Linked DNA regions of Homo sapiens: region 2 is linked to region 1. Evidence: promoter capture Hi-C in 16 types of primary human blood cells and fetal thymus (Javierre and others, 2016). All regions are on one chromosome and are shown on one strand. Each heading gives the region's core, a stretch centred on a gene start or on the middle of the fragment in contact. The rest is flanking DNA. Distances are from core to core; before and after follow the strand shown.

Region 1 (3,649 bases), core at 1,150-3,649:
AACATTTAAAGTTCAACCAATTTATAAGTATTTATGTTGCCTGTTTTATACTAGTTCCCGTTTAAACGTTTTTTTTTTTTTGAAAGTTTTGCCAAGCATTGTGTAATCACTTACACAAGGCTAAATTTCCTATGCAAGTAATTTTGACATGTAAATATAAACTTAAGTCATTACCCCCAAGACTGTAAGACAATCTGGAAATTCTACTGCAAAAAAAGTTTATCTTAAACTATGGAAATGTTTAACAGCACGCACAAAAGTAGAGAGAATAATAGTAACAATGAGCGCTTCTGTATTCATCCAGCTACAATAATCAACTCAAGGCCACTTCTGCTTCACACCTACCTCCTACCCACTCCCTCCTCTCATTATTATCTTCAAAAAGAATTAAGAGGAAGATACTATGTTCTCTAAGTACACTTCTACCCAAAGATAGCAAAAGTATCAAAAACTAGCATGTTAAGTCAAAATCCAACAATGTAACTATACAGCCGCCTTACGCCTTACACAATTCTTTGGTAGGTGATAAATTTAAGAATTCAGTTAAACACAAAGATATAACCATCTTTAAGAATTTTAATGAAGTCCATAAACCCAAAGGGCATATTTAAAATTATACCTAAAAAGACAAATAGGGAAATGTGATGAAAACGAACTTAAACATCTGCAATTAACTTACTTAACGTGGCACCTTAGTTCAAAATGAAAAAAAAAAATCGACTATTTAACATAATGTGTCATAAAACTGCAATTCAACCACTTGAAAAACTGCTGAACACTTATATACCTTAAACTGGTCCTTCTGATCCCTAATTATAGATTGATATCAATGTAGAAAGAAAACCAGGCATTTTAACGTTAAGTGGTTGAAAATGTTGAAAATTAACCCCACTGTTCATCGGAAAGTATATGAGAGCAAGCCTAAACTACCTGAATTATATGTCATTAAACAAATGCATCCACTTCCCAGAGCCTTTTTTTTAACAAAATAAGTTCAGATATACCCTTAAACGCAACGCGCTAGGCTACAGACAGAATTAGGAGACCGCCTCCTGCTTTTGCTCCTAACCAATACGCAGAGAGAGAAGGTTGGCAGAAAAGTGCTGCGAGGACAGTAACAAACACCAGCAGCTCCCGAGCAGGCCCTGCTAGAGCCAGGAATGACGCACTTCGGTAACCCGACTCTTTCTCCCCTCCACCCCCGCCCCCAGCAGCGGTGCTGACACCGCCAACAGCCCGGAGTAGGAAAAAAGACAACAGAAAAAAAGGCAGAGGTTGGACCGCACTAGGTTTCATCAAGAAACCTCGATGATTCCTCTTTCGACACTAACCACTAGGACTAAACAGGAAAAGAAGCTTCGTGCTTAAGCAAGTCCCATCATGGTGGTTTAAGAGTCACTAAATTAAGCTGATAATGAGTCCAATCCACAGAGACAAATACAGGGTGTGGCTGCTGCGAAATACGGCGGTCCGTGGGAGAAAAGGGGTATGGAATTTACACTCCAGTGTGAAGGGAAGATGGGGCTTTATGGTGGGAGAAGGGGGTGGCCCGCGCATTTTAAGGAACCATTGCAAACCAACACAAGCGCCTCGTTTACTTTAAATCTAACCTTACAGATCAAAAGTTTCCAATAGATATATCATGTAAACTGTAAATTACCATTTAATCCAACACCATGGCCCTCAATTTAAAAACTACATCCAAGAGAAAGAAGGAGGGAGAGGGAAGAGGGGTGGTAGGCAACAACATAAAAAACATTCTAGGCCACGGAAGAGAAAGTCTCACAAACCGGATGAAACTACTAATACAATATTAAAAATTAAAGCCGAGCACTGAAGCACGAAAATCACACGATAACCCATTACAGTTAAGGATTAAAAATAAAATGACATATGCACCAAGGGGGAGCGGAAACTAAATGTCGAAAGTACAGCGGTTTATAAAAAACTAAAGGCAAAACAAGACATTCTCGCGACGGGGGGAAAAAAAGGCCGAAATCAACAATACGTTCACAATTCTAGGCCAAAAGAAAATGGGAACGGGGCTCAAAGTTTTGCGGAACTACTTGATGCTGTTTCCCACACCTTCTCTCTCCCACGGCCCATCCGACCCTTTTCGTCCCAAAATCGCCGTCCGCAGATCTCCGGATCCAGGGGAGAAGAAAAAAGAAAGTCGACCCCGAGCAAGAATAAAAGTGTGGAGTGAAAACGCACAGGCTGCCTACCTGGGGCAAGGATCAGCTCAGTTCGTGCCTTGAGAAAGACAGTGCGGGTGGGGGTGGGAATGAAAAGCAGCACTAAAACTAAAACAAAAGTGGCGCCAAAACCCCCCAACAAACAGCCTTCCACTCCCGCCCTTCCCCCCTCCGCCCATGCCAGGCAGGCAGGGCCCCCTTCGGGGCAAGGTCTGCGCGCGGGGGCCAACACCGCCAGACCCCAGCCAATTTAGAAAATTGTTGCCCGAAGAAAACTGACCGAAGTCGGGCCTCGGAAGGGATGGAGAGATCGATGCCAATCGCCTTCCCCAGCAGTTCCCCCACCACGCGCTGGAGATGATGGGGCGGGGGAGAAGCAGAGGGGCCCGTCACATGAATGTTGTTCCCTCTCTAGGAAGGGAGGAAGAGAGGGAGGGAGGGGGGAGGGAGGGAAGGGAGGAGGGGAAGGGAGAAGGGAGGGGGCACGAGGGAGGGGTGTGATCAGAGTAGATTTTCCCTCGCCTCCCTCGGTCCGAGGCCCAAATATACACAACTGAGCCTCCTTTCTCCCCTCCCCCCTAGGTTCCCAGCACCACCATTTTGCTCTCTGCCTTCCCCTCACCGCGACACCGCGCTCTCCCCCACCCCAACCACAGCCTCCCGGCTTTCCTCCCCCGACTACGGCTCGCACCCCACCCCACCTCCAGTTCGGGCTCTCCTAGGCTTAGGAGCCTGCCGGAGAAAAGGAACCTAAATCTACTGCTACACAGAGAAGCGGAGCCTCCATCTTGCGCTGCTCCGCGTTCTCCATTTTGGGCCACCCATGGGGGGGGGGGGTCTCCGTAGAGGCCCCGAGGGAGAGTTGGGCGAGGGAAGGAAGAGAAAATCTTCAGCGAGGGTAGTCGAAAAGAAGAGCCCTGCGGTAGAAAGCCACTCTAGGAGTAGGAGGTAGGGAGGAAGGGGGGCTGGAAGTTCCTTGGAAGTGTTGGGGTAGCGACTTGGGGGGAGAAGGGAGAAAGGAGGGCGGGGGGCGCCGCGGGGGCGAGAAAGATCCTCCCGCCTGGACTCTGCCCCCCGTTCCATGGCTGCCCCCCATGGGGGCGAAGAAAGCAGAGGGGAAATTCAATGGCAACAGAGTGCCCAACCTCTTTCCCTCCCAACTCCTCTCTCTCGCCCTGTTTCAATCATACACACCTCACGGTGGGCCAAGCGCCCTCCGGGTGCCCCTCCAAACTTCTAGAAGCTTCGCCTCCGCCATTTTATAACTTACCTCCCCCCTCAGCGTACACAGAGGCAGCAACGAGACTGTTCGCCTCCCCCACTCCTCCTTCTTTCTCAGGCCGGGGGCTTCTTCACCCCTGGGCTGGTACAAGATATTTTTCCCCTTCCTCTTCTTTACACCCTCGAATTCTACTCAGGGACGGAAGCTCCCGCGGTTCTAGAGCGGTGGGGGG
Region 2 (3,204 bases), core at 488-2,987, 8.5 Mb before region 1:
TCCTGCATATGTGTGCGTTATCAACTACAATTGTCTTCGTAAAATTAAATAAAAGCACGCATTTATTATTGTGGGGCTCCAATTAAGGGACAGCTGGTGCTCCTATTACACTTGCATTAAATCGAAACTTGTAATTTCCCTGTGCAGATGCACACTTTTTAATCAAGATATAAAATTGCATTTGCTTTGTCCATTTTCCAAAGTATCTGGAACCTTACCTCAGGGTTCCTCTTATCCTGCAAACTCCGTGGAAGAAGGGGAACAGATTGCACTGATCAGCATTTCCCTGTCTGAAATTCTTAGAGGGAAATAAACGATTGGGGCATTTATGAAAGATAAAACCCCCAAGAAGGCAGCTGGTGAGTATGAATGTATTTATTTAGCCTGTAGCGAGTGGACTTATTCATCGACTAAGATCAATTTTGAAAGGACCCATTTCGCCTCACCTGTCTGGGAAGTGTCTATGAGCGTCCCGCTGTGAACCACACTGCCTTTCTCACTGGCACTTCAGTTCCTGAAGAGCCAGAAACTTTGCACCCCTACCCCAACCCCGCCTCTGGGGATGTGTGCCTGCTTCGTTTGTTTTCGCTTTTGTAAAATCTGAGCGTTATGATTTGTCCCCCTTTCCCTTCCTAATGAAATGACAAAGGGTCTGTGCAGCGGGGGCTGGGCTGCTGGGTTTGGGGGCGAGGCGCCACACCCCCTGAGAATAAAGCCCGCGCTGCGCTCTCGGAGAACCAGGCACGAGTGAGCGAACCACACAAAGAATATATTTCGCGACGAAACAGCGCCCTACAGGAAGAAAGTGCCCGCACTCCGAGCGTGAGCCGCAGCGCGACTTTTTGGCGCTCTTTGGGAGCAGTGAGAGAGAGGCGGAGGCCAGAGAGTCCGGGGTGGGCGCGGGAGCCGGGGCGGCCCTTGGCCGCATTCCCGCCCGTCCCGCAGCGGCGCGCGGAGCCAGGTGAGGTTGGCGGCGGCGCCGCGCTACCTGGCCGGGCGGGGCGGGGCCGGGCGGCCGCGTGCGCCGCTTCCGAGTCCGGCGCTCCGGATGCCCGCCCGCGCTCCGCTGGCCCGCGGAGTTTCGCGGGAGTTTCCGTTTTGGCGCCTAAAGCCCCTCGCTGGCGCCGTTTCCCTCCGCGTGCCGCGTCTGTCCGGCGCGGGACGCACGGAGGCGCGGCCCCAGCCCGGGCTGCCTGGGGTCGGCGGGGCTGCGCGAGGGGACGTCTGGCGTCCGGCGGAGGGCACTGGCCCGGGAGGAGGGCACGCCTTTGGCAAAGGCCGGGCGGGGTTGGGACCGGGGTTGCTATGGTAGCTGCGAGCCCGGGCGGGAGCCCCACGCCCGGCCTCCGCGAGGGAGCTGGGGCGCTCCGAGGTGTGCTCCGAGTGGACTGAACCAAGAGCCTGGGAGGAGCGGGTAGGGCCGGCCCGTGGCCTTGTCCCCTCCTCCCACAGCCCGCCGGCCGGCCCCGGGAAGGGGCCTCGAGGAGCCCAGAAAAGAAAGTATTCTGGCCCCTGGAACCGAAAGGAGTCTTGCAAAAAGCACGAAGGGGTCAAGGGGGCCGAAGGGAGAGGGGGAACCGTCGCCTCCGTCCGAGAGTCAGCGTGCGCGTGTCTGTAGACTTGACATTTTATACCCCAGAGCGGCCGACTTGGAGCCGGGTTGCAAGTCCCAGCCCTGAAGTTCTGGAGGTGGGGCGGGCTTTAATTTGCTTATATCTAATGATTTCAGGAACCTCGCTTTAAAATGGCGGCATTCAGTATGCACCCCTGCTAAAGGCTCTCCCGGCACCGGGGCCACCTCGCGCAGCGCTGCTTTTGCTTCTGCCGCTAACAGATGGCATGTGCCGCTGTCGCTGCCGCTGCCCCTGCTGCTGCCGCTGAGAGCAGGGCCCCTTAGCCTCTGGGTTTGCGCTAGCAGCGTAAGGTAAGGCTGGAGATGAATTGGGATTTGTAAGAGAGGCTGCCTTCCTCGGACGCCGAGGAAATAATGCCTTTTAAACTTCATTTTACAAAATAGCAAATAGGAGGAAAAGTCATCCTGCAACTTTGTTGCGATTTTAGAGCTTTGATCATTTTCCTCCTCCTTTCCTCCTCCTCCTTTTTCTTCTTCCTTCTCTTCCTCCTCTTCTCTTCCTCCTCCCCTTCCTTCCTTCTTTCTTTTTTTCTACTTTCTTCTTTTTAATTTAAAGGAACTTCTTGCATGGCATATAATCAGCAAATGCTTTTTAACAACGAATTTCCCCATTTTCACGCGATATCGTGAGCAGTGCCACAGCTTCCTTGCAGAACCTTGTCTCTTCCTGCCCTGAGTCAACACGTTTGGGCAGCTCGCTTTTACTACTGGGGTTTGAAGGGCATGAGAGTAGATTTTAGGAGACTATTAAAAAGGGAACTTTAGTTTTTAACACTCACACAATAAGCTTTTATGGTAAGAAAACGAAATTAAACCCAGACGAGTAATGAAAGTTGACATTTAAGTGATTCTTTGTTGTGGTTTCATAATTAGGGTAATAGACCTACTGTGTGTTTTTCTGAGCACTCTTAGATAGCTAGCTAGCTAGCTAGCTAGCTAGATGATAGATAAAACAGATAAATTAATTGTGGCTCTAATTAAAGTAATATGTTTTAAAGGAGTTATTTTCTCCTAGATGTTCTTACATCGTTTGTAAATTGAGCTGGGATCCCCACAGCCTCTCCGTATTTGTGGGTAGACTTCATGGGAAAGAATCAATTAAAACAAAACTTGCAAGATTTAATTTTGAAGTGATTGGTACTTTTTTTATTAAGCGGACTCCCTGCTTTAGTGAATAAACGTTTGGGTGATTACTGATATAATGTTTGGAAAACAGATTGTTGGTATGTGGGAATGACTAAACATCCATGCTTGATACAATTTATCTGAATTTTGTTTTGTTTTGTTTCCCCCTCCAGTGAAAGGTAAATAGACAATGAGGCTTATCAGACACCTTGGATTTTTCCTGATTATATTTCCATCTTCTCCTTGGCCCATGAAAATCTAATCCTGAATGTTTAACTACTTTTTAAAATAATTTTTAACTTTTTTCTAATGTGCGATACTTTTGGGGGATGCTTTCATATTTACCAACACTTCTTCAAATATAGACTAAAATGGGCTTCTGCCCACAGCTCAGCTGATAATATTCTATCGCTGTTCACTCCTTCTCCCAAAGCAGTAGAAACTAC

Evidence for each region. The method cuts DNA at HindIII sites, captures the fragments that hold promoters and counts their contacts. A CHiCAGO score of 5 or more calls a contact.
Region 2: a contact is called between the fragment with the promoter of MBNL3 here and a fragment that was not itself captured in region 1, in 1 of 17 cell types (naive CD8 T cells). The highest score is 5.2, in naive CD8 T cells.

The regions. Positions count from the first base shown.
Region 1 is chrX:123,960,683-123,964,331 of GRCh38, reverse strand. STAG2 (STAG2 cohesin complex component) reads right to left here and starts at 2,626. Exons shown (of 35, transcript NM_001042750.2): 1 at 2,476-2,626. STAG2-AS1 (STAG2 antisense RNA 1) reads left to right here and starts at 2,991. Exons shown (of 2, transcript NR_130770.1): 1 at 2,991-3,143. RefSeq lists enhancers at 1,119-1,378, 1,469-1,568, 2,997-3,046 and a silencer at 2,537-2,676. The HindIII fragment of the contact is 2,082 bases long and covers 1,359-3,440 here.
Region 2 is chrX:132,487,571-132,490,774 of GRCh38, reverse strand. MBNL3 (muscleblind like splicing regulator 3) reads left to right here and starts at 1,737. Exons shown (of 9, transcript NM_001386889.1): 1 at 1,737-1,924. RefSeq lists a silencer at 889-1,458. The HindIII fragment of the contact is 7,236 bases long and covers 1-2,422 here.